6 separate regions of the Homo sapiens genome follow, and all the other regions are linked to region 1. Evidence: promoter capture Hi-C in 16 types of primary human blood cells and fetal thymus (Javierre and others, 2016). All regions are on one chromosome and are shown on one strand. Each heading gives the region's core, a stretch centred on a gene start or on the middle of the fragment in contact. The rest is flanking DNA. Distances are from core to core; before and after follow the strand shown.

Region 1 (5,141 bases), core at 2,642-5,141:
TAAAAAGATTTTTAAAATCTAATGGGGTTGACAGAAGCGTGCTGGAACTGGCCCTTCTCAGCTTGCTAAGCTCGATTGTGCACATTTCTTTCTACCTCTGTATTCAGTCACTTTTCACTGTTAGCTTGAAATTGTTGACCTTGGTGTATTTACACCATGGAAATCAGCAAATGCCTGAAATCCAGGTTCCCCCCTGTGGATTTTCTTCAATCAGAGAGCCGGTTGTTAAGCATTTCCAACACCCCTGTGTGTACAGAGCAGGGTTATTCAAAGCCTGGTCTGCAGAGTGGTGCCCGTTTGCAAACTGTGTCACAGTGCAGGGTGACACATGCTATGAAAATTGAGTGTAGGGTCAGGTACGGTGGCCCACACCTGTAATCCCAGCACTCTGGGAGGTCGAGGCCAGTGGATCACCTGGGGTCAGGAGTTTGAGACCATCCTGGCGAACATGGTGAAACCCTGTCTCTACTAAAAATACAAAAATTAGCCGGGGGTGGTGGCACATGCCTGTAATCCCAGCTACTCAGGAGGCTGAAGCAGGAGAATTGCTTGAACCCGGGAGGTAGAGGTTGCAGTGAGCCGCAGAGGTTGTAGTGAGCCGAGACGGTGCCATTGCACTCCAGCCTGGGCAACAAGAATGAAACCCCGTCTAAAAAAAAAAACAAAGAAAATTGAATGTAAGTGTTTAGAAACTTTTATAGCAATTTTATAGAGTGTTTTACCTGTTGAATCTAAAAACAAAACAAAACAAAACAAAAATTATGGGTTTGTTTTTTGTATGTCTTAAAAAAAAAGTCCTCTTTCTAGTAATTCTTTTTTGTTGCATTTTACCAAAGCACTAATCTGCAGCAGATTGAGGGCAAACAAACAAACTGGTCCCTTACCAGAGATAGGCTGAGAAGCACTGAAAAGAACATTTGCAAATCCAGGGAACAGGGCAGAGGTAGTACAAGTGAGATTAAGAATATATTCAAGAGGTAACTTGAAGCCACAGGCTATTTTAGAAAACAAAATGATGTGAAGAGGCCAAAAGAAAAAAAAGAAACTTGGAAGGACCTAAACTGGGGACATAAATGTATTTCTATTGTAGAAATACAGAATGGGAACGATTGGACTTATGGTTGTAATGTCAGGTAAGGTGTCTATTTCAGGAAAGGCATGTAGGATTAGAAGTATGGACCTAGGCCTGTTGCGGTGGCTCATTCCTGTAATCCCAGCACTTTGAGAGGTCCAGGTGGGAGGATCTCTTTGAGCTCAGGAGTCTGAGACCAGCTAGAGCAACATGGTGAAACCCATCTCCACAAAATTATCCAGGAGTGGTAGAATCCTGCCCCAGCCTTCCAAGTAGGTGGCACCTGTAGTCCCAGCTACTTGGAAGGCTGGGGCGGGAGGATTGCTGAAGCCCAAAAGATTGAGGTTGCAGTGAGCCAAGATCACACCACTCCAGCCTGGCGACAGAGCAAGACTACGTCAAAAATAAAAAACAAAAAATAAAAATAAAAAGACGGGGTGTTTCATTTGGAAAAGAAGAAAGGGGGGTTTTCAATTATTTGGAGGGCTCTTGCTTAGAGGATAGCATGGGCCTGTTTTGTATAAGTCCCCAAAGGAACAACAAAGGCAAGGGCTCAGAGAGGCATAAAGAATAATTCTCCAGGCATTGATTGTCCGTCCATAGAAGGAATATGAGGACCTCATAACAGAGGGAGTTCTCAGCCCCTGGACCTGTTCAAGCACAGACCAGCACATCTTTTGGCTGGGAGGCTATAGCAATTGTACCAACATCTGATAGGGGGCTCAACTAGATGACAAGGTTTCTTTCAAATTGGATGGTTATGATAATGAGTGAAATTTAGACAAGAATTTGCAAACTAGGGAGGGTCCCACAGAGAATGATGCTGAAGAGCTGAAGAAAGAAGCCAAAAAAGGAGGCCAGAGAAAGAGCTCCAACGAGGCTGTCTGGTAGCAATGATGAATGTTCTGCCATCTTGGGAAAGCAGCTGGCACTGATGAGGACAAAATAACTAATAGACAAGTTTGCTGCTGCTGCTTCCAGCCAAGCAGACCCCATAGTTGTGCACTTAACAGTGCATCATAGGGCTCCTGCTCCTTGCGGTGATGTGTTATGCTGGCCGGACTTTCCAACAAATGCCAGACAAATCAGCGGTCTGGCTGGAGTCCTCCACCGGCAAAAATGCGCAAACCCTGGCAACAACAAAGATGATGAGATGAGATTCAGTCCAGACCCGTGACATGCCATTAGATCTTCCTAATCACCAGAGAGCAAATCCTTACTCTGTGTACTGGACACTGTGCTAAGAACTTAATAGACATGGGGGCTGGGTGTGGTGGCTCACACCTGTAATCCCAGCACTTTGGGAGGCTGAAGCATAAGGATCGCTTTAGCCCAGGTGTTGGAGACCAGCCTGGGCAACAGAGTGAGACCTCGTCTCAAAAAAACCCAAACAACAACAACTAGCTGGTCATGGTGGTGCACGCCTGAAGTCTCAGCTACTCGGTAGGCTGAGGTGGGAGGATCACTTGAGCTTGGGAGGTGGAGGCCGCAATGAGCCATGACTGTGCCACTGCACTCCAGCCTAGGTGACAGAGCAAGACCCTGCCTCAAAAAAAAAAAAAAAAAAAAAAAAGAAAAAGAAAGAAAGAAAAAGAAAAAGAAAAAGAAAAAGAAAAAAAAGAAAGAAAAGAAAAGAAAAAGAAGAAAATAGACATGATCTCACATATGTGAAAGATCCCACTATCCCCATTTAACTGATGAAAATATTAAGGCTCAGAGCAGGCAACGGACATCCCTAACTCATCTAGAGATTCAGTGACAGAGTTAGAGTACTCAGGGCTCCAACTCCCATCTGACCATTAACTCAAACCACCTTTGTTTATCTCCCCCGCCCCCCGCCAGTAAACACTCTCTAGTAAACACCTTGTCCACTAAAGCACCGTGGTTTCCACGAGGGACTCCTTCGTGCACAGCCATCCTCACTCTGCAGGAACTCTTAAGTTTCAGTGAATGAATGAATTTGGAGTGGTCAACAAGGGGTGCACAGTTGCAACTTTTAAAATATTGCAGAAGGAGAGAAATGCCACAAAACAAAATGCACATGGAAAAATCACTACCTTATTTCAAAATATTTACAGCTTCACATTTAAGGCCACCCAAAGCGTGGCGGTCAGTGGTGAGAAGGCAGAGATCAGAGGCTGTTGGGGTGGGTCATACACCATGATTCCCGGCCCCCCTCTGGGAGATACAAGGTATCCCACAGTCTTCTCTCCCAGTTACATCCTCCACGGAAACCACAAGATGACTCGCTCAACTTTTTCTAAAGTAGAAAAAAATATGCTTGTGTGTGTGTGTAAGGGGAGGAGAGGGGATGTGAATGAAATGGAGGGTAGTGTAATAATTCCTGTAGTCATAAGACACGCCAGTTGGTAGTTGCTAGTATTCCAGACACTTCCTAACGCCAGACAAATGCCCCAAGCCTCGGCATGTCTGGCCTAGAGATCTATTCAACTGATAGCAGCCGCCTCTTCTGGGGAGAGCAGATCTTTCAGAAAGCACTGGCTGCGCTGCTAATCAAACGCAACATTGTTCTCAGCAAGGAGGAAGAATGGAAAGGTTTGTTTCAGAGTCACAACTTTATTTTTTTTAAAAGGCACCCAAGTTGTTTCAACAAGCTGCTACAAAACTTGGGCTTCCTGAGTGGAGGCTGTTTTGCACAGTGCATGTACTGTACAAAAATCCAGGCAGGGAGGGGTCAGAGAGTTCGTCATTAAAGAAAAAAAAAAAAAAAAGCCCCAGGCACTTGATGCCTGGAAATGATGTCAGACGCAGCCACTCCTCTGTTAGAACTACAGCCAAACAATGCGCAGGCAATCCACAGCAGCTGCCCCTGCAAATGTCAGCGCCAGCCCAGTCAAAAGAGCTTGAAACCTACCAAGCCGGAGGACTGTGCTGTGCCTCTCTCGCCCACATTTTCCCCAAGCACTCTCAGGAACCTGGCAACAGGTAACGTGGCAACCTTTGACTTATAAAAGGGCAAGTGGCACAATCTCAGGGAACAAATGGACTTTTTTTTAAAGCCAGCATCTCCCCCACCACTCCCACACCCCCCTCCCTCCCTCCCTCCCTCCCAACCAAAAGTCTGTAAAAAACAAAACATTGACGCGGGCAGTCCTACTCTCTAGTGTCCCCTTGTGGCCAAGCCTGGAACATCACATCTGTACGTTGCAATCTGTGGATCAGCTACGAGGTAAGTCGCTCTTTGGAAGGGGTGGAGGTCTTTGCTGGACTTGTCTTCCGAAAAGTATGAAGAGTGGAAGTCAAGGCTCAGAATGGCGTCCTTTTTTACCTTATCACCTTAACAAAAACTTCACCTTAGCTGCAGGGTTAAACCTCTGGGTTGGGGCTGGGGATTTTCGTTGTTGTTGTTTTAAAGCAGCAGCCAAGGCCATGTTTTTTAAGGTGGTGAGTTAAACGGAGCAAGAGCTGCGGTAGCCTTTTCCACCCAATCTCTTTCTTCACATCCTAGTCACAGCCAAGGGTAGGGTGGATGGCAGTGAGGATAAACAGCCCAGAAACAGGATTCCTGCAGGGTGGGACTGGCATTTTCCATTTTTATCTGAAGTTGTACTTTGAATGCAGACACCTTTCTCTCAGGCCAGAAGCACTGCTCATTTGTATTGCTGGCTTCCAGTTAGCCTATTTGCAAGGATTACTTAGGATTTCCAGACTGCAGGCCCAGCTACCCAGAGAGTGTGCCTCAAAGCCCCACCTCAAAGCTTTTATCTCTATGTGGCGGGAAACACCCACGAAAATGCCAACGGCGGTATTTGTAACTTGCCTTCTTCCTTTTGGGAACTGCTTTCTGCAGCTCTCTCTGCGTTAGAGGAATAGCTACAGCTGGGAGCTGCTCCAGCCACGCAGGAGGAGAGGGCACCCATTGAGAGGCGGGCACCCCTTCTGTCTCCCTCTGGCTATGTTAACTGGAAACTAGGAAAGGGGTTCAGATCAAAGTAACTGCTGTCTTCAGAAAGTTCCATTCATTAACTAAGTTAGCGGAAATTAAATGGTGTTTGGAGGAAGGTCATTTCAGAAGGCCCAGGGCCAGAGGCTGAGGTCTAAAACTTCT
Region 2 (5,141 bases), core at 1,607-4,106, 400 kb after region 1:
GGCTAATATCCAGAATCTACAATGAACTCAAACAAATTTACAAGAAAAAAACAAACAACCCCATCAAAAAGTGGGTGAAGGATATGAACAGACACTTCTCAAAAGAAGACATTTATGCAGCCAAAAGACACATGAAAAAATGCTCATCATCACTGGCCATCAGAGAAATGCAAATCAAAACCACAATGAGATACCATCTCACAACAGTTAGAATGGCGATCATTAAAAAGTCAGGAAACAACAGGTGCTGGAGAGGATGTGGAGAAATAGGAACACTTTTACACTGTTGGTGGGACTGTAAACTAGTTCAACCATTGTGGAAGTCGGTGTGGTGATTCCTCAGGGATCTAGAACTAGAAATACCATTTGACCCAGCCATCCCATTACTGGGTATATACCCAAAGGATTATAAATCATGCTGCTATAAAGACACATGCACGTGTATGTTTATTGCGGCACTATTCACAATAGCAAAGACTTGGAACCAACCCAAATGTCCAACAATGATAGACTGGATTAAGAAAATGTGGCACATATACACCATGGAATACTATGCAGCCATAAAAAATGATGAGTTCATGTCCTTTGCAGGGACATGGATGAAGCTGGAAACCATCATTCTCAGAAAACTATCACAAGGACAAAAAAACCAAACACCACATGTTCTCACTCATAGGTGGGAATCGAACAATGAGAACACATGGACACAGGAAGGGGAACATCACACTCTGGGGACTGTTGTGGGGTGGGGGAGGGGGGAGGGATAGCATTAGGAGATATACCTAATGCTAAATGACGAGTTAATGGGTGCAACACACCAACATGGCACATGTATACATATGTAACAAACCTGCACGTTGTGCACATGTACCCTAAAACTTAAAATATAATAATAATAATAATAATAATAATAATAATAATAAAAAGAAATTACTACTTGTTGAGTTTTGGTTGAGTATTAAAAGAAGAATAACCAGAAATATATGTGCTATTAAATACTCCTCCTTTCTCACATTATATATGTATGTAAAGCCAGATTTGCCTTCTACAGTTTGACCAAGACAACATAGTACATGCAACAGAGTGAATAAAGAGGCAGATATAGGAATTTAGCTGCCTTCTATTAAACCAGTTATTAGTTATAAAAATGTAAAATAAAACCACTCACTTTTTTTTGGCAAAATGGTTATTTTTTTTCTAAAATGTATGTTATTTATGTGAAGATTTAATGGAGTTATTAGTTTTCCTTTCCAACTTTTATTTTAGGTTCAAGGGGTACATGAGCAGGTTTGTTACATGAGTAAATTGTGTGTCACAGGGGTTTGGTGTATAGATAATTTTGTCACCCAGGTAATCAGCATAAAACTTTATAGGTAATTTTTCAAATTTTTTTAAAATTTGTTTTAATTTCTAATAAAGTAAATATTAATATAAAAAAACAAAAAACAAAAGACCTCATTTCCTGTATCTCTAAAGCACAAGCCCATTCTGAGATTTTATAGTTTTTTACTGATGTCTTGCTCAGACTTTTTCAGTAAATATTGAAATGATTAGAATTAAATAGAATTCTTATATATTTGTATTTACTCATCTCTCTGTATTTCCGGTGGGGGGATAGAGTTCAAGGAAAAGTTTAAGAGACATGGTTGGTTCATTTCAGGAGTCCAAACCTTATGCTAATGAGGAAGCTTTGTCAGGGGAATTTCAGATATTGGCCAGTGGCAGTGGTGGGAACCTTGGGGTTAGCATCCTTGAAATAACACCGCAGAGGTGGTGAGTGGCCAGTGTGCCTGGATGACCCAGATTTGAGTGGGGTCTCTTCTGGAGGCTGACTGCCCAAGCAGCCTGAAGAATCACAGAGATACTTTCTGGTTGGTATTGCCCTTCTCCCTTCTCCCCAGAGCTATGCCTGATTTGGGCTGAGACAGTGGAAAATACACAATGCATGTTTCAGACATTCCTGCTTTAATATGTTAATATCTCACCCACTCTCCAGACCAGGAATCTCATATCTTGTCCTACTCTTTTCCACACAAAAAGAAAACTGCATTACATATAGAATTTTTCAGTGTAGCTGTTGCTTATCCCATTGTAACTAACCACTTTGATTTATTTTTTTGTGTATATCTTGCCTTGACACGCTTTCTTTATCGAAGACCACGGAAACATGGATTCTTTGTGATATTTTGAAAAATGACAAATTGAAGAGATTTTTATCTCTGGAGACTCAGCTTTTACATCATAAAGTACTTCTCTCCCCTGATGGCTAACCCAATCACATAGTTCCACAATAAACAAGATGAATCTAGATTCATAAGACAGTATGTGCAGAAAAATGCTGTTACTCTTTGTGGCTTCTTTCCCTGTGCCTTGAAAATGTTCATTAAAAATCTCCTACTTAGTTTGCCTCATTATATTGGTTTACTCATATTGGTCCCCTATTTTAATGATTTAAAGCACGTTTGAAAAGATTTCTTGTTTGGAACATCCTTGGCCAGGCCACTACTTTGTAAAGTAGGGAAGTCTGCAGGCCCTAGTTGTTCTTTTGAACTTAGTTCATAAAATGATTTTTAAACACTGATCTATCAGCTTTTCTCTTCTCTTTATCAAAATTAATAATTCACATAAAAGCCACCTATTTAAATGGAGTCTCAGCTGGGTACGGTGGTTTACGCCTGTAATCCCAACACTTTGGGAGGCTGAGGCGGGTGGAATGCTTGAGTCCAGGAGTTCCAGACCAGCCTGAGCAACATGGTGAAATCTGTTTTCTACAAAAATTACAAAAATTAGCCAGGTGTGGTGGTGCACAACTGTGGTCTCAGCTAACTGGGAGGCTAAGGCGGGAGGATCACTTGAGCCTGAGAGGCAGAGGCTGCAGTGAGCCGTGATTATGCCACTGTACTCCAGCCTGGTGACAGAGCCAGACCCTGTCTCTAAATAAATAAATAAATAAATGGAGTTCCATTGTTAGCAACTTACACAACCTGGAAAAATCAACTGATCTATAAATATTGGCATGGATGAGTGTACAAATACTTTCAAAAAGAATTACAATTTCTCTGTAATAACTATCAAGGTTATTTGGCTAATAGGGGGTCCCTGGAAGACCTTTAAGACCTGTCTGTAAAAGAAAAGGAACGCTGGCAATTCACAAGACACCTCAGCAATGTAGCATCTGCTCCTGGGGCAGGTAACAAAATCCAGTTTTAAATTTTGCTCTTAACAGTTAAGGAGATAATCAAGTCAGCTTGGGATTGGGTTGTGCACAGGAAGGCTGCAAAAAGATTACAAAATAGCCTCCCCCTGGCAGAAATGTAAAAAAGCCATTCCATGATTTTTTTTTTTCAGTTCTGCCAACGATTTATCTTCAGAAGACAAGCAGATGAGGAGACAAAACCTACTGATGTGGGTACCCAAGCAGGAACCCCCCTCTTGCACCGGCGACTCACGTGGGAAGAAGGTAGGAAATCAACAGCATAGGGGAAAGAAAAGGAAAAGGAGTTTGGAAACAGGATAAGACAGGCTTCTTTTGAATAATGGAGAGGACTCTTAGAAAAAAGAAAAGAAACAGAATAAATTTTTATTCACTGATTCCATTTCAGCGCAGCAAATTCTCATTGATTTTAATCAATTGCTTTCTTACAGAGTTTTGTCCATATGTATGTGACAAAATCAGCGGTCATTTAATGACAGACTTAGAATGTGTGCTAAGAATGAAACCATTGAGATTTCCTTGTCTTTCCTCCTTTCAGTAAAAATCATGAAGGGGAGAAAGGGAGGGGGTGAGGGTGGGGCAAGGAGAGCAATATTTTATAAAAGTGACAACGCGTTTTGCATTTGAATTATTATTTATTTTCCCTGGTGGAGTTTCAAGCAGGTTATTGCAAGGAAAGGAAAAACTGGAAATTAACCAAACGTGGTCCAGACTGGGGATGACGAGTTTAGCAGGGGCTTTAATGGGACCTCCTAAGCGATTCAGGAGAGAATGAATCTCTCATAGTTTCCCTTCTCATGGGATCACTGACCAAGCTTCCCCAAATCAGGGTGCAGCAACAAAATCAGGGTGCAGCATCTTTTAAGTGGGCTTAAGACCCACTTAAAAGCTTATCATAGCGAGATGTTGAGAAGATAAAGTTTTAGTTTTTTATAGAGCAGAAAATATATATGAGATGAGGAATAAAAGGTTCTGTCTAAAAGCCTGACATGTGTAAGACTTTCCCTCCACTGTTGTTTTCCTTTTGGTTTGGTAAGAATGTGGTGAGTGAAGTAAAAAGATAAGGAGAGAAGAACCACAGAGACCCCCTTGAAGCGTAAAACTCTGTTTATTAAGAGTGAGAATGTTCAGTGGCCTGTGACCCTCCCTTTCCTAGGCCACCTTCCCCAGTGCTTGGCTTTTCCCTGCCTGGCACCGGGTGATCCAGGCAAGGCCCTGGCTGGGGTGCCGAGGGTGGGGGAGACAGCTCTGGGTCCTTCTGTGCCACTTCCTCCCTGTGCTGGTGTTTCAGCAGCAATCTGCCCCTCTGCGATGGCAGCCTGTCCACAGCTCTAGTGCCCATAGGCTTGGGGACCCCGTTCCTTCCCTTCATCTGACTCTTCAGGCCTAGAGTGGCGAGGGCTTCCCACTGTGCTTGTCTCTGGGTACCTCGGCCTCTCTGGCTGTATTTTCTTAACCCTGCTCCCTGCTCTATAAACAGACCCTTCTCTAAATTCACCTCAACTCTCTTAATGGGATTCTCTTTCATGGGATTCTGACTGACAGAGTGCGGCTAAAAATATCTCAAACCTGATAGAAGCTGAGAGGAGCTGAAATTTCGAGTTGCAGAAACCTGGATGCTTGCCACTATATAGAGGACAGCAAACCATTTATTATTTATACAATTTCAGGCAAATAGGCTCTAGAAATTCCAGGTACAAAAGATCTGAAGAGATGACTAAACACTAACTAGGATTAGTTACATTAATCACGGACTTTTAAAATGACCAGAACCACCTGCTGCTAAATTATAAAGTCCAAAAAGACTTCAAGAATTGTTCAAAACTAAATAATGTCAACTCTCTAGAATGATTTATTCAAATTTAAGTAGGCCAGACTCACAATTTGGAGCACAGCTCTTTAATACATATAGATTCTAATTTTCTAA
Region 3 (5,141 bases), core at 1,114-3,613, 280 kb before region 1:
ATATTAAGAATTTTCAAATAGTTAAATAAATAAGGCAATAGACTGGCAGTGCACAGATTAAAATAGTTTGATAACTTAGGCTGGGCACGGTGGCTCACGCCTGTAATCCCAGCATTTTGGGAGGCCGAGGCGGGCGGATCACGAGGTCAGGAGATCGAGACCATCCTGGCTAACACAGTGAAACCCCATCTCTACTAAAAATACAAAAAATTAGCCGGGCGTGGTGGTGGGCGCCTGTAGTCCCAGCTACTCGGGAGGCTGAGGCAGGAGAATGGCGTGAACCCGTGAGGCAGTGCTTGCAGTGAGCCGAGATCGTGCCACTGCACTCCAGCCTGGGAGACAGAGCGAGACTCTGTCTCAAAAAAAAAAAAAATAGTTTGATAACTTTAAGAAAAAATCCAACACTTTTTTGAGTCCACAAGTGTTTATAAAAAGTATTAATAAAAGGAAGAATAATTGAGATCAGAGAGTATCAAAATTCAAATTTCTGTAGACTTGTTTGGTGAATTAGGTAAGCCAAATACACCTTAAGAGTTTTATTTAGTTATTTGGTATTTAATATTTTCTTAGTTTTATTGGTTGTTTTTTAAAAACTATATTTATGTAACTTTTATTTTAGCCAAACAGTAACTTTATATTTTCCACAAATGAATTGCATGTTTTATTTTTTCACTTGTGGGGTTGTGCTCTGCTTCAAAATTATATTTAAAATTTACTTCAAAATTATATTTTAAAATTTCACATTTCACACAAAATTTTCAACCATTTTGATTACTTTATATTTTACATGAAACACTGCCTTGAATTTATTTTGAAATAAGACAGGAATTGAAATATGTTTTTCCTTAAATGGTTAACCAATTGAACCAACACCACTTATTCAGTAATTACTCTTGTCCCACAGATGTTTATCATCTAAAAATATGACTAGTAAATTTTTAACTAATATTTGAATTTTTAAATTAATTCCAGATTTATTCTTGTAACCCAGCAGTTTCGTTCTATGGTGGTATAATCTGCTTTAGTTATTGTTTTAATGAAATATTGATTTTAATTGTCAGACATTTGGAGTTCAGCCAAACTGTGAAGTTAGTGATGAAGCACATATAAAATTGTGTATCTTTTAAAAATGTACATGAATGAGACTCAAGTACACATGCTATATTTAATTTTTAAATTTAGTGACATATCATGGATATTTTTCCATATCAGGATTTACCGCCCCTAGATAGATATTCATCCAACAGAAATAAAAGCATATGTCCATATGAGACTTGTACGCCAATGCTCATTGCAGCTCCATTTGCAATAACTCCAACCTGGAAACAACCCAAGTGTCCATCAACAGGTGAATGGCTAGATGAATTGTAGAACATTCTGATGATGGAATGCTTATCAATGATTAAGAATGAACTGGCCAGGCACGGTGGCTCACGCCTGTAATCCCAGCACTTTGGGAGGTGGAGGCAGGCAGATCACCTGAGGTCAGGAGTTTGAGACCAGCCTGGCCAACATGGCGAAACCCCATCTCTACCAAAAATACAAAAATTAGCTGGGCATGGTGCACACCTGTAATCCCAGCTACTCCGGAGGCTGAGGCAGGAGAATCGCTTGAACCTGGGAGGCGGAGGTTGCAGTGAGCCGAGATCGCGCCACTGCACTCCAGCCTGGGCGACAGAGGGAGATTCCGTCTCAAAAAAAAAAAAAATTAAAAAAGAAAAAAGAATGAACTATTGATATATACAACAACATGGATGAATCTCAAAATATTTATGCTGAGTTAAGCCACACACAAAAAGAGTATTACTGTATAATTCCATTTGTATACAATGACAAAAATGCAAATTAATCCGTAAGAGCAAAAAAACAGTTCAGTGGTTGCCTAGGGACTGGGGGTGGAAAAGAGGAGTGAGGGAGGGAGAGATTGCAGGGACACAAGGACATTTTGAGGTGACAGATATCTTCATTATTTTCAAGCCGTCATAGTTTCACAGATTTATTTACACGTCAAAACTGATCAAATCATTTAAATATGTGCAGTTTTTTACATGTCAATGTTATCTCAATAAAGAATTTTAAAAAATAAAACAAAAGGTTTTCAGGAGTTTGTAATGTGTTTACTCACACACTCCACAAACTCAATTTTATCAAATATTTTTTGAATAAGAAATTTTAAATCTGTCAATGAAATTAGCCCTTTTCAATGATGTGCGTGGCAACTACTTCCCTGTTTTTTTTTTGTTTGTTCGTTTGTTTGGAGACAGGGTCTCGCTCTGCTGCCCAGGCTGGAGTGCAATGGCCCCATCACGACTCACTGCAACCTCCCGGGCTCAAGCGATTCTCCCACCTCCGCCACCTGAGTAGTTAGGACTACAGGCCCACCACCACACCTGGCTAATTTTTTGTATTTTTTGTAGAGGCAGGGTTTCACCATGTTGCCCAGGCTGGTCTGGAACTCCTGGGCTCAAGGGATCCACCCATCTCAGCCTCCCAAAGTGCTGAGATTACAGGTGTGGGCCACCACACCCGGCCTGTTGCTTGTTTTCTAAAACTATACTGAGTGATTTTTTTTTTAAAGCTAAACAGAAAACTTATATTTTCATCAAATTAAATGTATGCTTTTTTTTTTTTTGGCTTGTGGGGTTGTATTCTGCTTAGAAAGAAGATCTACTTCAACAATATGTACTTAAAATTTTCTCACTTTGTTCACAATTTTTCTAGCATTTCCTAACATTTCAATTGCTTCATATTTCTGCCTCAAATTTATTTTGGAATAAGGCAAGAGTTAAAATATGCTTTTCTTTAAATGGTTAGTGAATTGAACCAACAATGTTTATTGAATAATTACTTTTGTTCCACAGATTTTTGTCACCTAAAAATACTTCTTTTTTTTGTTTGTTTGTTTTATTTCTGGACTTTTTAATCTACTCCATTGGTCAGTTAATTGTTGAAGTTTTGGAATCAGTGCTCACTTCTGTTAGGATTAGTCTCCCTCAATTCTCTTCTCTTTTAGTATTTTTTTTTTGCGTAATCATATTCCTTATTTTCTATCTCTTCTTTTTTTTTGTTTTTGACGGAGTCTTGCTCTTCGCATAGGCTGGAATGCCGTGGCACAATCTCGGCTCACTGCAACCACCTCCAGGGTTCAAGTGATTCTCCTGTCTCAGCCTCCTGAATAGCTGGGATTACAGGTGTGCACCACCACACCCAGCTAATTTTTGTATTATTTTTTAGTAGAGACGGGGTTTCACCATGTTGGCCAGGCTGGTCTCTAAACTCCCAACCTCAGGTGATCTGCCTGCCTTGGCCTCCTAAAGTGCTGGGATAAAGGCCTGAGCCACCGCGCCTGGCCTCTAGCTATTCTTTAATATTTTTCTTTTTCTTTTTTTTTTCCAAGATGGAGCCTCGCTCTGTCGCCCAGGCTGGAGTGCGGTGGCGCAATCTCGGCTCACTGCAAGCTCCGCCTCCCGGGTTCACGCCATTCTCCTGCCTCAGCCTCCCGAGTAGCTGGGACTACAGGCGCCCGCCACCACGCCCGGCTAATTTTTTGTATCTTTAGTAGAGACGGGGTTTCACCGTGTTAGCCAGGATGGTCTCGATCTCCTGACCTCGTGATCCGCCCGCTTCGGCCTCCCAAAGTGCTGGGATTACAGGCGAGAGCCACCGCGCCCGGCCTATTCTTTAGTATTTTTCAAAGAACTGGAAATGAATTTCCCAAGGAGTGAATGTCTTTTACTCTTATTGTCTTTTTAAAATTCTTTGTGCATTTGCAATTTTTTCTTAATGTATTTGAAGAATATGTAATTTAGTCCATAAAGATTTATGATAGGTAAAGCCTCACTTCTTTATCATCATAAAATTTTTCTTTATCATTTTTCAACTTTGTCTTTGTTTTGAATTCATCCTTGACTGATGTTGATACCAGCTCTCTTTTTGCTTTCATTGTCTTGAGATTTATTAATCTCTCTTTCCCTTTTATGTTTCTTTTTTTTTTTTTTCTTTTTCGAGATGGAGTCTCGCTCTGTCACCCAGGCTGGAGTGCAGTGGTGCGATCTCAGCTCACTGCAACCTCTGCCTCCCGGATTCAAGCAATTCTTCTGCCTCAGCCTCCCAAATAGCTGAGACAACAGGTGCGTGCCACCATGCCCAGCTAATTTTTGTATTTTTAGTAGAGATGGGTTTCGCCATTTTGGCCAGGCTGCTCTGGAACTCCTGACCTCAGGTGATCCACCCACCTTGGCCTCTCAAAATGCTGGGATTACAGGCGTGACCCACCGCGCCAGGCCCTCCCTTTTTTCTTTCTGAATAACTTTGTTTCTAACTCTCTTATATATGACATTTAATCTTTTTTTAACCCAATCTGATTTTTTTCTCCTATGTATTTACTACATTTATTTTATTTATATGTCATATACTTGATGTTAATTTTTCATCAGAATATATTTATAGTTTTAACACAACCTTTGTTTTGCTTAATGATTTCTGTTTGCTTTAAGTGTGTACTTTTCTTTTTGAAACTTGGAAGTCTGGTTGTTTACTTTTAGATCTTCTAGGCTATGGAATTTTTGTTCAAAATTTTTTAGCTTATTTACTTTTAAGGAAGACGCAGACAATTTAATGTAGAGGAAGGGTTATTAAATTTTCCTCCACATTTTGCTCTATCTACATCAGATCTGTAAGGGAAAAATAATAAATATTCCTCTTTGCCAGACATACAGTCTTATTGCAACTACATATTTGTCCTATATAGCAAATGCAGCCATAGATAGTAAGAGATGAATGGGTGTGGCTGTGTTCCAGTTAAAATTACATGGACAGACACATTGGTATTTCATATGTCAAAACTATTTTTAAATGATTTACAAATGTAAAAACTAATTTTAGGCTGTAGTCTAGATTTAACTCAGCCCAAAAGCCTGAGAGTCAAGAGAGGCAATAGCGTAAGTTCCTATCCAAAAGTGTGCAAGCTTGACACCCAAAAACAGCCAATGTCTCAGTTTGAGTCCAAAGGCTGGAAAAGACTGACGTCCCAGCTCAAAGCAGTCAGGTAGGAGGAGCTTCCTTTTACTCAGCGTTTTTGTTCTATTCAGATCCTCAACTGATTGCATGAGGCCGACCCACATTAGAGAGAACAATCTGCT
Region 4 (5,141 bases), core at 1,612-4,111, 280 kb after region 1:
CAGTCCTTCCATTTCTTGAAACTTGCACACAAACTGAAGAAACCCACTCAGCCTTAAAAAGGTCGATCATTTTGCTTTCCTAAAATTTCATCTCTGGGAGTGCTTTCCTTCTCGGTCTGTCTTGCTCTCTCTCTCGCTCCCTCTGTCTCTCTCTCTCCACTTCTACCGCGGAGAGAGCGTTTTGTTTCCCTTTTCCTGTTTCTACGGCTGAATGAATGCAAAATACACTGTTTGAAGGGATTTTTCTTTTAGGTTAACAGTTGGAAATCTAAAATCTTGCTCTTCTGAATGGCTTTATATGTCAGTCACTCAACATACAACATTTACATAAAGAGGCATAAACAGAACCAAGAATTCTGCTTTTTAAAAGCAAAAACAAAACAACAACAAAAACCACCTTTTATTCTATCTCTGAACCTCTTCCTATTTTATTTATTTAACTATTAAGCACTTACCCTGAGATGTGCCATAAATGCTTTATTCCAAATGTATAAGAGCCAACCACATCTCAACTGAGAATTAAACAGTTTTAATGTCTTCAAATCCATGTTCCTGCTCCCAACCCTAATACAGACAGTCACTGGCAGCGGTACAATAGTTCTAAACAGCAGACATCTGATTCTTGACATTTAAAAATAACAATATTGGAAAAAAAAGGAGTCCCTTTTTTTATTAACTGCAGACAGCTTGTGAGTGAGCACTTATCACTCATAATACAATTGACCGTATTAACTGGGACTTGCAACGATTTCAAGCTACAGTATTTGATTCCTAAGTCAATGTCAGGCAGAGGCTAAATACTTATAGACTTCTCATTTTCTATAGAATCATGGCAATGGCCTAAATTAAGCGAATTCTAAGTGATAATTCCGCAAAGAGAGAAGCAGAGCTTTGCTAGTATTTAGACTTTATTATTGGTGATTACTAATTTCATCTTTGTTAGTCTTGAATCAAATTAGGGACATAATCAGTTGTTTCATTGTTAGTCTAATTTCATATCCATGCCCTCTTAACTTCTCACATGCATATGAGGTCAAATGCACACATACATTTACCACAAAATAAATCAAGTAATAAAATAAAAAATACGCACTCATTTCCATTACTGAAGCATATTACGGAGTTGGGTAGATTTGGGATCAAGTGCTAGCTCCCCCACTTACTGTTTATGTGTTCCTGGGCAAATGATTTAAGCATTTGTGCCTGTTTTGTTGTCTATAAAACTAAAGTAAATAATACTCTACAAAGTTGTTTTGAGTACTTAATGAGACATACACAGTTTCTGGCACATAATAGATATTTGATATACACTGCTTCCTTCCTCTGCTTTGTATTTGGAGGAGGTAGAGATTGGGCATAGTAAATGAATACAGACTTTGAAAGCAGACAAATCAGTTTTGACCCAACGTGTTGCCACATACTAGCTGTGTGTCCTTGGGCAGGTTACTTAACCTAATTTACGAAATCTTAGCTTCTTCAACTGTGAAATATCTCTAGAATTTTAAAGAGCAAATTAGACAACATCTGAAAAACATACAGTAGGCATCTCTGAAATGAGAGTCCTGGGACTTCCAATTCTTGAAAATAGTTCTAATTAGTACTCTGACACATGTAATTTACGAGTTTGAAAATGCATACTGAGATCATACATCTTTTGGACCAAGCGCCTCATTTTCTAGCAGAGGAAGGAGGTCCAGAGAGCTGAAAGCATGTTTCCAGGTCATGTTACTAGTTAGCAGCAAATAAGGACTAGAACGCTCCGGGAACTAGAAGAATAGTGCTTTGCCTACTAAGTCTCTAATATTGAAGTTAAATCCATTTGTAAATCCAGCTTCAATATTAGTTGGCAATTAAGGCAATAGAGCTGAAAAAAAAAAAAAAAGAACTCCAAAGAAACCCTCTTTCCCTCTCTGTTTTCCCAAATTTACTTCTAAGAATGAGCCTATAGATGAAATTATTCCCTTGGAGCTAGCTGGCACGGGCTAACCCTATCTTCCTCAGCAGAGCTTGCACGGGGTGGCAGATCCTCTTTTCATTTCCTAGAAGCAAGAAGGGAGCCAGAAGCCCAGTTCTCAGGAGGTATTTTCTATTCTCCTCTGACCCCATATGAATATATGGCTCTTTCTTCCCTTTCTTTACAGCATCTCTTCAGCCTCAGCACAGGGGTTGGGAGGTCTACACTGTTTTACATTTAATTCTCTTACTAACATACTACCTCCCAACATTGAAATATAGATTTTTTCCCCTAGTTTGAAAGTCTTGCATAAATAGAAGCTTAATACATTCAATATCTATTAATAAGGATTAACTTGGAGTTTAGTTTAAAAGGTTGAACTAGCTTGGTTAATTATTTCCCAATGTAGGACAGAATATGTTAAACTGTTTTCAACCTTTCAATAATTTCAGAATTGAAAACAAAGGTGCTTTGGTGTCAAAGACAGATGAGCTATTACTCTGGGGAAGAAGGGAAGTAAAGGGATTAATATGAGTGTGTCTGTGATCCATTGTAATGAATGTTTTAGTTCTGTATGACGGGTGATGTATACATGGGTGTTTTATTTTTTTTCTTTATACCTTTCTGTAAGCCTCAAACGTTTCATTACAAAAATGACTTAAAGAAGGCAAATAGTTTGAAAATAGAATTTCCAAATCTTTATAGTAGGAGATCCAATAATGCTACTACTAAATCCCATACTTAAGCCTTTAAGATTTCATTCTCATTTTACTGAAAAACTTTAATAATAATATGCTTATTTTAAAGATTTTTATTTTCTTCTTGCTCACCATTTTTGATGCCCTTGATTTCAGGTCTGTGCTAGGGCATATTAGAAAGAGCTTGGTTTTGGCATCAAACATACTTGAGCCTAAATCTCAGTTGTACAACCTCCAGATTGTGGGGCTTTAAATGACTTGATATTTCTAAGTGTCAGTTTCTTCTCTTATAAAAATAGAATATTATTACATTCAGTAATCTTGGGATTATCACAAAGATTAAATGAAATAAGAAATGGGAACACATTTGCTATAGCATCTGGTATATAGTAGATTTTCAATTAATATCACTTTCCTTATCTTTCCACTTTTCACCACTACCTGAGATCGCAACTCCAAAAAGGTATAAAAAAGAAAGAAAAATGAACCTAAGGAAGGAAGAATGTAGGCATATAGGCAGATATAACGAAAACATTTCATTACTAACAAAGGCTTATGCTAGATCCATACACAGCATCCTTTACTCTGATACTTCTCATCTAATCTCATCATTACTTACTTAAGTACAGGTGTTTTTGTTTTTGTTTTTGTTTCCTTTCAGTTTGTTTTGTTTTTGCCACTGGTCATAGAACCTTCGCAGACAAAATGTGTGGTACTCTAGGGCTTTTATCTCTTTACTCCTTACTTTTTGTAAGACAGATATCCTTATCGAAATACTTTACTTTCAGTGGTGGGTGAAGCTTTATGTTCTTAAAGAGTTTCTAGAGCTTTCGGTTGCAACTTTCATTAATGGCCATTTCTCTAAGTTAAGAGACTGGGTTCTAGTCCCACCTCTGCCACATGCTAACGGTTTAACCCACTAAGTATTTACCTTTCTTTGTGTCTACTTTTTCATATGCTAAGTGGATTAAATGATTCTTTGAGCTCTGAAATTGTTATAGTTCTTGATAACTTATTAACATGTAGCAACCTTACAGGAAATTAGGCAACACCAGCTTCAGTGGGAAGTACTGACCACATAATTGTGTGTCGTGTATGAAAACTGTCCATGTGCTGGTGGCTTCTTCTGAACTCCAAGAACAGGCTCTGGCACTGCCCTTGTCCAGGGATTGCCAGCTTGGGGTCTTCTCAGGGATTGATGGAGGCATTCCCAAGGGAGCCAGACTTGTCAGGAGGAGTTCAAAGGGAGCAAAAAAGATGAACTCCTCAAAGGAAGAATTTTTCTTTGCATTTCTTCTTAAGGTGGGAGTGTAAAATGGGAGTGGGTATGTTATACTTTTATAGCTCAGTAATTTTTTTTTTTTTTTAAGATGAGGCTACCAGGAGAGAACAGAGAAGAAAAGACACTCTGAAAAAGGAAAAGATGAGAGTTCTTATGGAAAAATGTGCCTTGGGAAAAATTACAATACTACAGCAAGGAGGTAGGGAAGAAAAACATCTCTCTCCTATATTTTTATCCAGGTAACATCTGGTTTCAGTGAACTGGAGGAAAACACAAGGAGACAGTGGCAGGGGAAGAGCAGCCTACCGTGGCTCTGTAAGTGTGTGGGATTTACATGCTGACACTAATTGTATTTTACTTCTCTAATCCTTCCTCCTTTTCCTCCTCCTCTCTGTTGTCCTGGGTGTCTGCAGCTGTGCTTGTCAGGTCCCCAAACTGGCTAGCTCCCCACCTCCTCAGGGCACAGGGCGTCTTCCTGATTTGCTGTGCCCTCGATGTGGAAGCTCAGGTCGGGGTGTAGTTACTGATGGTTATGATGATGACCATCGCAGTATTCTAACATAGCTTCAGGCAGGATTTCACAATGAAAACCACCCCACAAAACCCTGAATAGATCTAATGAAACTCTTTCCAAAATTCAAACGATCGTCACGTATTTTTGAATTAAAGAAAGGTGGACTTCTTTTAAAATTCTCTGTAGACTTCCCTTTCCTCTCTTTCCCATCCTATGATCCCTCAGACAAAAGAGGAAGCCCATAATAACTGGTTGCCTTTCCATAGGCGTGCTTTTCAAAGCACTTGGATATCTAGTGTCTTAAGATAACCCGGTGAGGTCGGTAGCATTTGTTTCTTTTCATTTTCCCTACAGGAGCAATTCGGCACAGAGATGCCGAATAATTTGCACAGGTTCCTATCTTAATAGACAATTCAGAGTAGTGCCAAGACTAGAACCAGGAGAAATGCCCACACAAGCATGCCAGGTACTACTTCTAAGCCTCCATCATTGACAGAAATGGTACCTGCAGGTACTGGCAGGAGCGTTCTTGCTGACACGACTCGGACTTCACCATGGCCTGGTCCATGTTCACCGAGGCCTTCTGGTAAACCTCCCGGGCCCGGCTCACGGTGAGCGTGGAGGACCAGGCGCTCTTCTTCAGCAGCGGGGTGTCCAGGCTGACCGGCAGGTTGGCGCAGGTGGAGCACTTGA
Region 5 (5,141 bases), core at 1,554-4,053, 260 kb before region 1:
AAAAGGACTACCTGGGGGCGGCCATGTCCAACATGGAGGCTCCATCTTCTCTTTTTTTGTTATCACGTGTACAGTAATAAAGAAATGGGCAACATGGTGCACCTCAGGCAGAGACGCGCCTGGATAATAAAAAAAGGTTAGGATGGGGGATACCAGAGATTCGTGCCCTATGCAAATAGCACAACTGGTCTAACCAGTCTTTCTTGCCCTTTCTTGCCTATGTAGATCAGACGCCGCCTCCCCACCAGCTCATCTATAAAACCTCCTGCATTTCACCGCGGATCCGGCAACCCATTTTTCTGAGACCCCTCTCTGCAGCAGAGAACTCTTCTCTTTCTTTTGCATATTAAACTTCCGCTCTCAACCTCAATCTTTATGTGTCCTCATTATTGTTCTCCGTGGCCATGAGAAAATGAACCTCGGGTGTGACTCCAGACAATGAGGCTGTTTCACTTAGAGGTCAAACAACTTGCCCAAAGACATGTGGCTATTAAGTGGAATCAAACCCAGCTCTGCCACTTACTAGTTTAAATGGTCAGAAAGCACTGTTTTATGGATTTTAATAACTTCTTATGTCTGTGAGATTATTTTGTCTGCAAATAATAGAAAAACACAATTTGGATCCATATAAACCATCAAGAAATGTATTCTTTTCCATAGGAAGTCCAGAGATAGGGTAGCCCCAGTCATGATGTGGTAGGCACTTCAGCTTCCTTCTCTACCTCTGCTGTTTCCCTTATATGGTGCAGGTTGAATCCTCTCCCTAGATGGCCATTGAGATCCTAGTCATCACATCCAGACACATCAACAGGCCTTTTCCTAACTGAGCATTTCCAAGGGCACGGGAGAGCCATGAGCAGCCAGAGGAGCTGAATAGGTGCTGCAGAGCCAATCACTGTCTCCCTTATTCCTTATACTCACAGAGCATGCTTGACTTTTCAGAGTACTTTCATGGTGATTATCACTTTCAATTTTCACGATGACCTATGTGAAATGTGAGTTTTGGATTATCCTCACAGGTGGATTTGTTTGCAGGAAAAGAATATTTAATTTAAATGGTTATATTAGTATTCAGTATATTAAGATACAAATCTCACAATCTAATACTTCCTTAGGTTTTTAAGTCCACCTTACAAATTCTGTTTTTTTAAGTTGGGTGAATTTGGTAATCACCTTACAGAGAACTTTGTTTTCTGTTTTTGTTTGTTTCTTTTCTTTTGTTTTGAGACAGAGTCTCGCTCTGTTGGGCAGGCTGAAGTGCAGTGGCATGATCTCAGCTTGCTGCAAACTCCACCTCTGGGATTCAAGTGATTCTCCTGCCTCAGCCTCCTGAGTAGCTGGGATTTCAGGCATGCACCACTATGCCAGGCTAATTTTTGCATTTTTAGTAGAGATGGGGTTTCACCATTTTGCCAAGGCTGGTCTTGAACTCCTGACTTCAAGTGTTCCACCCACCTCGGCATCCCAAAGTGCTGGGATTATAGGTATGAGCCACTGAATCCTGCCTACAGAGAACTTTGATTAAAACTTGGTCCTATTTATAAACAAAATCAAATATTTTAGAACCTTTTATACTGCACTTATAAATTTAATTCATATTTAATTTTATTAAACAATTATCTGACTTAATAAATGAAACATTCCTGAGCACTAAATAATTCTTTTAAATTTGATATGGTCAATTAAACTGATAATATGTTGAACATGAAATTCTCTTAAATAATTAAGACCTGGATATAAACTTACACATATCAGAATCAATTATGTATTTGTGTATTTTAAAATGGATTTAGAATAATTCAATCATCTTAAAACATGATAAGTTTATAAAACATCAAATATGTATAAACTCCTTAACCCCAAAATACAAATACGGTGAGTTTTGTTCTCAAAGCTTATTTGGGTAAGGCACTTCCCACTCAGGCTACAATTTTCCCACGTAACTATAGCTTGAGGTTGCCCAACCACCAAATATTTTGGCCAGGAGGCTGAGTTCTTTGGTAACTAAATGAATTCTATTTGTGGTTGCTATGTCAATTACTCCTTAATTTCAGAAGAGGGATAGGTCAAGTAGCCCAAAACCAAGACCCTTCTGATTCTCTCAGAAGAGTTTACCCCACTCACATCACTTGATTGGATTTGCATCTCTTTGGCAAAGATGTGTAAATGTTGTCCTTGTTCCTTTAAAGAACTTTGAATTTGCTCGATTCCTACATTTATTCTTACTCTTAGGATTTCATAACTCTTATAGGGTATTAAAATAACATCCAATTGATTCTGAGTTTGTCGATTAGTTTACAACTTGCAAGGTAATTCAACTGACATACTTTAGGCTATACGAGCTGTCTGGAAATCATGTGGTTGGGCTCTTAACTGTATGGGGTACTTTTCTCTCAGAGCAAACCTTCTATGGGCCATAACTCTTGCCTCTGGTTAGAGAACGGTCATTTGCCCAACTTGTAAAGTTGGCCAATGAAAAGAGTAGTAGCCCTCCAAAGTGGTATAAAAATTAGAAACATCTGAAATCTGTAACTACAAAAATAAACATTATGTAAACTTAAGCAGAGCCTCCTGAATTACAGCTGCTATGATCCCCCTCTGAGGGAGTTTCTTGACTGGGAGAAGACTGGCCCTAGCATCAGCAAGTAAGAATTCTGCTACCCATCAGCATAATAAAAGCTAACAGAACCTTCTCTACTTTCCCATTGAAGCCCAAACCCTACTCCCACTTTTTGTTAAGTTGGTATATAATTCTTTACCTCTGAGTATTCAGGGAGTTACTCAGTAATGAGTACCCCCACATGCGCATGTAAATAAACATTGTATTTTATTTTCTCCTGCTAATCTGTCTATTGTAAGTTAATTCTCAGGCTCCCAACATTTTGCCAGTCAGTGGCAAAAAGTCTGTTTTCACGCTGCTAACAAAGACATACCTGAGAGTGGGTAATTTATAAAGAAAAAGAGATTTAATGGACTCACAGTTCCACGTGGCTGGGGAGGCCTCACTCATGGTGGAAGATGAAAGGCACATCTTACATGGCAGCAAGACAAAAAGAGAATGAGAACCAAGCAAAAAGGGGCTCCCCTTTATTAAAACCATCAGATCTCATGAGACTTATTCACTACCATGAGAACAGTCTGAGGGAAACTGCCCCCATGATTCAATTATCTCCCACCGGGTCCCTCCCACAACACATGGGAATTATGGGAGCTACAAATCAAGATGGGATGTGGGTGGGGACACAGCCAACCCGTATCAGTGGATAAACAAAGTTTCTTCTCTACACTTTCAGCAAGTGTAGGATGGAATGATTAGGACTCCCCACTCAATCTACAGACAGCAGCGATCTCAGACCTCTGACCAAGCTGGTAAATGTTAACCTTCTTAAGCATTAGACTCCTGGGTCTCTGCTGGGGACCCTGTGAGTGACTCCATTTGGTGGTAAATTTGGCCACTTCCTTTCTTGTTGATAAGACTTTAATAAGGATAAAGTCATGGGACTTTAGTGGCCCTTTTGGAAAACTAAGATCTCCCCAAACTAGCTCCTCTAAAACCTCTCTCTTACCATCTCTCCTCCTCCTTTTACTGCCTCGAGTCTTCCCTTCAGCTCCTTTGACATGTCCCCTTCAAGACCCTACCTCCTCCATCCCTCTGTCTGCCCCTGTCAGATCTTTTCTTTCCCATTCCAGCCCCCCATCTCTTTACAGTCACTCAAGCTTTAGCTCTCCTCCCATCAACAGGGGCTCTTGAGGGGTTCAGGGGCCCCCAAATGCAATCATATGAGGCTAAAAAGGCTTATTGAAAATAGAATGGATGTTTCATCCACTCAGATGGGATTTGGAGACATCCACACAACCTCTTGATGTGTGCTCAGTCCCTTAGTCCACAAACTCAGTCCTAAATCTTAGTACACAGATTCCATAAGATTACAAAAAAAAAAAAAAAATCTTAAACTCTTTCCTGTAAATATCCATGGAAAGTTTTAATCCTCATATTGAGCTGGTAATCTCAACATATTCCATCTAATAAAAAATACAATTTGGATAAAAACATAAAGGGGAGTAAAGACAGGAACCAACTCTTGTAAACCAGTGAATTTTGTGTTACTGTGTTTACGCCTTGGGTGCTGTGACTATTGTTATAGATGGCTAAAAATTTTAGGATGAAAGCCATCAGATCTCTATTTGCTCCAGTTTGTATGCATGCATGTATGTTATGTATATGTGATACTTTCCTATCTCTGAGTGGTATTAATAAATTAATTTCTAAAATCCCCTAAAGGAGTTCTAATTGGCTTAGACAAACAAGGGCTATATAAATTAAAATATTCCTAAAACTTTCAGAAGTATAGAAACTAACCCAAATGTTTTTCAAGTTCATGTAATTTGGGTAAATCTTTGGTAAATAAGACTAAATTGAATTTGTTGGTTTAATAAAAACAGGTGGTATGTCTTCCAAGTTATCAGCATTAAGCATGAAACAAGTATACATTTTATTCGCCTTGGGTTTACCAGTCAAATAACCTTGTATCTGTCAGATGTTTAAGATTAAAAAACTATAAACTTAACCTAAAGAACAAATGTACGAGTAAAGATGCGATAAAAATGAATTGCATGATATCCATTATTTCTTGTATATGAAGCACAGAAAAAAAGTATTTAACTTTTTAAATTTTAGTTTTATTTATTTTAGGTTATTTGCTTTTTTGATTTTTTTGATAATTGCCTAAAATAAGTTAACATGAAATAAGTTAACAGAAAAATAACTTGAGATGATGGGTAGCTTTGTTTAATGTCTTAAGAAATTTTCAGGCTGGGTGCAATGGCGTGCACGCCTGTAATGCCAGCACTTTGGGAGGCCAAGGCTGGTGGAGCACTTCAGACCAAGAGTTTGAGACCAGCCTGGGTAACATGGCAAAACCCCATCTCTATAAAAAATACAAAAATTAGCTGGGCATGGAGCTGTGTGCCTGTAGTCCCAGCTACTCAGGGGGCTGAGCTGGGAGGATACCTGAGCCAGGGAGGTACAGGTTGCAATGAGCTGAGGTAGCGCCACTGCACTCCAGCTTGGGTGACAGAGTGAGACCCTGTCTAAAACAAAACAAAACAAAACAAAAAAATTTTAGTGAGGCATGGTGGCT
Region 6 (5,141 bases), core at 1,274-3,773, 270 kb after region 1:
CAGACACCTCAGTAGTTCAATCACTAAGTCCAGGTGATTCTATACTTAAAACATGTTTTTTCCTATTTAAAAAACTTTAACCATCAGTTCCCCTCTCCTCCCAGGTTGGTGAGAGCTCTTTGAGGGCAAGAGTCATGTCCTTTCAACTTTGTATTCCCAGCCTTTAACAGAGCCCTTAATCTGAAATATACTTAGTGCTCACAAGTGTCTGAATTAAAAATTATATCATATACAACAAAAGGGAAACATATATATATATACGTGTATATATACATATATATACACGTATATATATATGCACACACACACACACACATATATATATATAAAACACCTGATTGCAAATGTGCAAGATGTATGCATTTACATGTATAGATACTGGAAGGGGATTTCAAATGACATGAATAATTGGTGTTTTACTATAAAGTTAAGAGACTGATAAAAATTTCAAATAAGAAGCAGCAAATATGTTACTCATAGGCAAAGGGGAATCTAGATCTAATAAACTAAAAAATTGTCTGGCATGAGATTCTTCTGCTCTAAAAAGCTTACTAAATGAGCTTTCACATGATAAACATTAGAGGGCATACCATCTCACAAGAAAGGAACACTCCTTTTAGATGACACTAAGAGTTAACACTTTAAATGTAAGAAGAAAAGTGGTGGATGAAGCTATTGAATGCTTATGTTTCAAGAAGAGTGAACAATAGAACTTTCATGCTTCAGAGCTTTTTCCATACATGAGGTTATAAGTATATTTTAAGTGAGATGTTAGAGCAGGTGACAATTTTTAACAGGGACTAAAAAATTAATTGCAACTCAAAAATTAACAATATTTAAGAGTGAATGACTGTATACTGCAGAGTATGTAAGTAAGTACACCATCTACAAGTGCTCTGATTTCAAATAGTGATTTGAATGGACATGCTGCCTAACTATTTTAGAAGAGTATTCTTTTAAAATAATCTAAAAAACACAGAAATGGATGGTATTTTCATTTCATCACCATATACGTGAAATATCCAGGGACCAGTGCATATATACAATGATCTCATTTAGCTGATAGGCAATAGATATATAATTTCACACATCTTTCACACCAAGTTTAAAAAAATGGTATTAAGTTTAAGAAATAGCTTATGTTTTAGATAGTAGATTCTGTAGTAGGCAGATTACGGACTCCCCAAAGACGCCCATGTCTTAATCCATGGAACCTGTGAATGTTACCTTATATAGCAGAAGGGACTTCACAGATGTGAGTAATTTACTGGTCTTGAGATGGGGAGATTGTCGTGCATTATCAAGTGGGCCCAATATAATCACAAATAAGTAGAAGGAAAGTCAGAGCGAGAGTTGTGGCCACAGACACAGATCAGGGTGATGCAATTGCTGGCTTTGGAGATGAAGGAAGAGGCCAGGAGTCAAGGAATGTAGGTGGCTTCTAGAAGCTTGAAAAGGCAAGAAAAGGGTGTCTTCTCTAGAAACCTCCAGAAGGAACATAGCCCTACTGATGTTTTGATTGTAGCTCATTGAGACCCATTGTGGACTTGTAACCTGCAGAACTGTACGATAATAAATTTGCGTTGTGGGCCAGGCACGGTGGCTCACGCCTGTAATCCCAGCACTTTGGGAGGCCGAGGTGGGCAGATCATGAGGTCAGGAGATCGAGACCATCCTGGCTAACATGGTGAAACCCGTCTCTACTAAAAATGCAAAAAATTAGCCAGGCGTGGTGGTGGGCATCTGTAGTCCCAGCTACTCGGGAGGCTGAGGCAGGAGAATGGCGTGAACCTGGGAGGTGGAGCTTGCAGTGAGCCGAGATTGCGCCACTGCACTCCAGCCTGGGCGACAGAGCGAGACTCTGTCTCAAAAAATAAATAAATAAATAAATTTGCATTGTATTAAGGCACTAAATTGGGGGCATTTTGTTATTGCAGCCATAGGAAGTTAATACAGATGCTGAAGGGTTTCATGTGCTCAAAACCCTGATAAGTGAAACTGTAATCTCTAACAGTAACTTTTGCAATGTCTCTTAAATCTGCTCTCTTGCTTCAGTTCACACTGCTAACACTGTGTTTTTTCAGGCATAATAATAATAGGATTTATTGAGGCATCATATAATGTCCCATTTCCAAGCATTGGTCTGCACCTTCCACATGTATTAACACAATTAATTCTTTTGACAACCCTGTATGATAGGTATTTTTATTATCTCCACATTACAGAGGAGGAGACCATGGCAGATAGACATGAAATATCTCACTCAATGTTGTATAACTGCTAAAACACAGGATTTGAACACAGCTTTCTGGTAGCAAAGCTATATTTACTCTTCCCAGAATGAACTTCATGGCCCTTGAACTGCATGGCTGTCAATGAAGGTGAACGCCTCACTAATTTACCATCTATGTTGACTGTTGAATTATTGTGGCAGACAGAATTTTGGCTCCCATGATCTCCACCTCCTGGTGTCATGCCCTTGAATTTGTGACGTTTCATGGAAAAAGGGACTTTGCAGATGGAATTAAGTGATTTTCAGGTACTTGTCAGGCATGGGGGATATAGGGCTGAACTATTGAGAGATTAACAAATAATGAGAAAATGCTAAGAGAAATCTCTCCCGTTATACTCCCATAGAAATACTTTCAAGGCTTCAGAGATATGATATTTCAAATGAGGAAACGTCCTTATCCTCCATCCTTCCTTACTTACAATCCAGGTTTAAATTCTTTCTGTAAACTTCCCTATTCTTTGTTCAGATACCTTTATGCTTCTCCCTTTGCCCATGTATTTAGTTATTTAATGTTCCACTGGACTATAAACTTTTTCAGAGTAGGAACTGTTTTAGAAGTCTTTGAATTCCCATTTCCTATCAACTTCGACGCTTATATAGAGAAGATCTTCATTGTTTGTTACTTGAATCGATTATTCAGGAAAAACTCCTTTACAAAAAATCCTATGACAGGGATTACATTGTTATAGGAGCTCCAAATTCCAATAGAGGATCTGTTCACTTCAGCTAATATTCATCCACAATAATAATTCTTTAAAAACTTTATATTCCTCAAATTATTCTACAGGCTTTCCTAATAAACTGTCATCATAAGGAAGAAGGAAAGCCATCAATTTTATGCTTTTAAGGAAAAAGCATATAATTTTTTAAATGTCATAATTTAAACTTGTTAGTGACCCCTTATTTCTTCTGGGCACATGATAAAGGCTAAGAACTTTTCTTCTAAGCAAGATGAACATCTCACCCACTCCCCTGACTTTTATATAATTTCAGGAGTTTGCTGATTGTGTAGAGTCCAATCTTGCACATCCTACAGGGCACACAGCCTCAGATAGAGAACACCTGAATTAGGTGGATGAGATGCCCTGCCCTTCTGCGCTTGACTTTCTGCCCAGTGCCCCCACCCTGCCCTCTACCCCATCCAAAGGTCTTTTTGAGATAGGATTATTTCAGAAGTCAGTCAAATGTGCAATCTCAGCAGTTCTGCTTCTGTGCTGCCCCAGCCTGACTAGTGACAACCCTGCTGATGTTCCAATCCTAAACATTATCTTCCTCTGACAGTCCACATTAGGGAATCCTGCCTCAATAAGCTTTTCCAATGGGCCTGCCACCAATGGCATTGTTCTGATTTGTTGGGCTGAAGTGATCTCTCTCTTTCCAGGCCTCAAAGATGGCGAAAGAGTGCCTGGTTTCAGAGAGCAATACGAAAAATGCAGCTTTGGAAGTCTGGTGAGTAAACAAATGAAGCCAGACGTTGACACTTGTACATCAATCATGTTCATTTTTCAATGTGCATTGGAAAGGTTTGAGACTCACTTGTCTCAGCAAACAGGGTTCAATTAAACCAGTACCCTGGATAGGCCATAATGGACACTCCAAGGGCCTTTCTGGAAAGCCCTTTCCCTTTGGCCAAAGGCATAAGCAATGTGGGGTAGACAGGAGTCTTTTGGGTAACACGTAAACTGAACCTGTCAGAGGATGAGGGGCCCTGTCTGAACGGCACCAGCCAAGGGACTGGCTGTAGCAGATATGATGATGCATTGCCAACTGCCATATCCATCTGCACCCAGATATTGCTCCTAGAGGTGTCAAAACATTGTAATTTACAAGTAAATGTGAGGAGAAGAAAAGTTTTGCAGACATGTTTCTTAAATGAGGAAGAGAATCACAGATGAGGATTACTGTCCAAAAGAGAGCTTCAGCAACTACCGCCCAAAACTCAGCGTGAGAATGGAGATATCACGTAAGGTGCTGCCTACTTGGCTGATGGTGAGGGAGGTACAAAACGCAGAGGAGCCGACAGGCACGTGGAGGGGACAGCGCCAGGTGGGTGGGAAGATCCAGGGAGATAATGCACATGACGTGCCCAGCACAATGGCCAGCAGGTCATGAGTGACTAATAAAAGGTGGCTAAGAATCCCACCAAAACCCCAGGCCCATGTTAGTCCTCATGTTTCTAAGGGGAAGTGAGTTGTACTTATTGAAAGCTAGGTATGTTACATAATTGACTCCTCAAAACAACTCTACGAGGTAAGTATTTTTGCAAATGAAGAAAAAGAAGTTTTAATGGTGGAATGATTTATTTAATGCCACACTGTGAGGGCATGGAGGACAGGCATTCAAGCAGGGCGGCCCTCGCCCTCACTGGGCCTCCCTGCCCCGCTTTGGGCACACAGAAAACTACCAGGCAATTTGGACACCTCTAATCACTGGGACATCACCACAGGGTATTACCTTTTTATGGCAAAGCCCCAATCTACTAGAAGTCAAGAGAGTAAAAAACAATTAGAGCAATGCTGTCCAATACAACTTTCTGTGATGACGGAAATGTTGATTGAGGGATTAATAAACAACAGGAAACATGGTTACTGACCACTAGAAACGTAGCTACGGTGACTGAGAAACTGGATTTTTATTTTTTTCAAACTTTAATTCATTGAAATTTACAGATCCACATGTGGCTAGTGGCTACCACGTGGGACAGCAGAGAACTAGACTACCTGATTTAAAAGGAACCCTAGGGCTCATTTGCCCTCATTTCACCAAATAGGGAAATGTCCTTTGCTTTATGCCTCATGTGTTCATCCAGTTTCTCATAGCACATTTTTAATAACAAGAAACTCTTCCT

Evidence for each region. The method cuts DNA at HindIII sites, captures the fragments that hold promoters and counts their contacts. A CHiCAGO score of 5 or more calls a contact.
Region 2: a contact is called between a fragment that was not itself captured here and the fragment with the promoter of DLGAP1-AS1 in region 1, in 1 of 17 cell types (erythroblasts). The highest score is 6.0, in erythroblasts.
Region 3: a contact is called between a fragment that was not itself captured here and the fragment with the promoter of DLGAP1-AS1 in region 1, in 8 of 17 cell types (naive B cells, naive CD8 T cells, M2 macrophages and 5 more). The highest score is 9.9, in naive B cells.
Region 4: a fragment that was not itself captured here is called in contact with the fragment with the promoter of DLGAP1-AS1 in region 1 in 2 of 17 cell types (monocytes and M2 macrophages); the score reaches 9.2 in monocytes.
Region 5: a contact is called between a fragment that was not itself captured here and the fragment with the promoter of DLGAP1-AS1 in region 1, in 9 of 17 cell types (naive B cells, M0 macrophages, M2 macrophages and 6 more). The highest score is 9.0, in naive B cells.
Region 6: a contact is called between a fragment that was not itself captured here and the fragment with the promoter of DLGAP1-AS1 in region 1, in 1 of 17 cell types (monocytes). The highest score is 5.5, in monocytes.

What each region holds. Positions count from the first base shown.
Region 1 is chr18:3,590,223-3,595,363 of GRCh38, forward strand. It overlaps DLGAP1-AS1 (DLGAP1 antisense RNA 1), which reads left to right and starts at 3,892. Exons shown (of 3, transcript NR_024101.1): 1 at 3,892-4,018; 2 at 4,198-4,262. The region is part of intron 7 of DLGAP1 (DLG associated protein 1); the gene reads right to left. RefSeq lists enhancers at 3,532-3,651, 5,064-5,141 and a silencer at 4,649-4,943. The HindIII fragment of the contact is 5,788 bases long and covers 1-4,789 here.
Region 2 is chr18:3,989,743-3,994,883 of GRCh38, forward strand. All of the region lies in intron 3 of DLGAP1 (DLG associated protein 1), which reads right to left. DLGAP1-AS4 (DLGAP1 antisense RNA 4) reads left to right here. Exons shown (of 5, transcript NR_102696.1): 2 at 3,349-3,460. Among named protein-coding and RNA genes, the nearest start is that of DLGAP1-AS4, 30 kb to the left of the region's middle. The HindIII fragment of the contact is 2,341 bases long and covers 1,687-4,027 here.
Region 3 is chr18:3,308,853-3,313,993 of GRCh38, forward strand. No RefSeq gene overlaps it. Among named protein-coding and RNA genes, the nearest start is that of LINC01895, 39 kb to the right of the region's middle. The HindIII fragment of the contact is 5,204 bases long and covers 1-4,965 here.
Region 4 is chr18:3,874,159-3,879,299 of GRCh38, forward strand. DLGAP1 (DLG associated protein 1) reads right to left here. Exons shown (of 13, transcript NM_004746.4): 4 at 4,954-5,141. DLGAP1-AS3 (DLGAP1 antisense RNA 3) reads left to right here and starts at 4,022. Exons shown (of 3, transcript NR_038895.1): 1 at 4,022-4,133. It overlaps LOC124904238 (a long non-coding RNA gene), which reads left to right and starts at 3,667. Exons shown (of 4, transcript XR_007066270.1): 1 at 3,667-3,954; 2 at 4,174-4,249. The HindIII fragment of the contact is 1,178 bases long and covers 2,273-3,450 here.
Region 5 is chr18:3,330,615-3,335,755 of GRCh38, forward strand. No RefSeq gene overlaps it. Among named protein-coding and RNA genes, the nearest start is that of LINC01895, 17 kb to the right of the region's middle. The HindIII fragment of the contact is 1,823 bases long and covers 1,893-3,715 here.
Region 6 is chr18:3,858,231-3,863,371 of GRCh38, forward strand. All of the region lies in intron 4 of DLGAP1 (DLG associated protein 1), which reads right to left. Among named protein-coding and RNA genes, the nearest start is that of DLGAP1-AS3, 17 kb to the right of the region's middle. The HindIII fragment of the contact is 2,155 bases long and covers 1,447-3,601 here.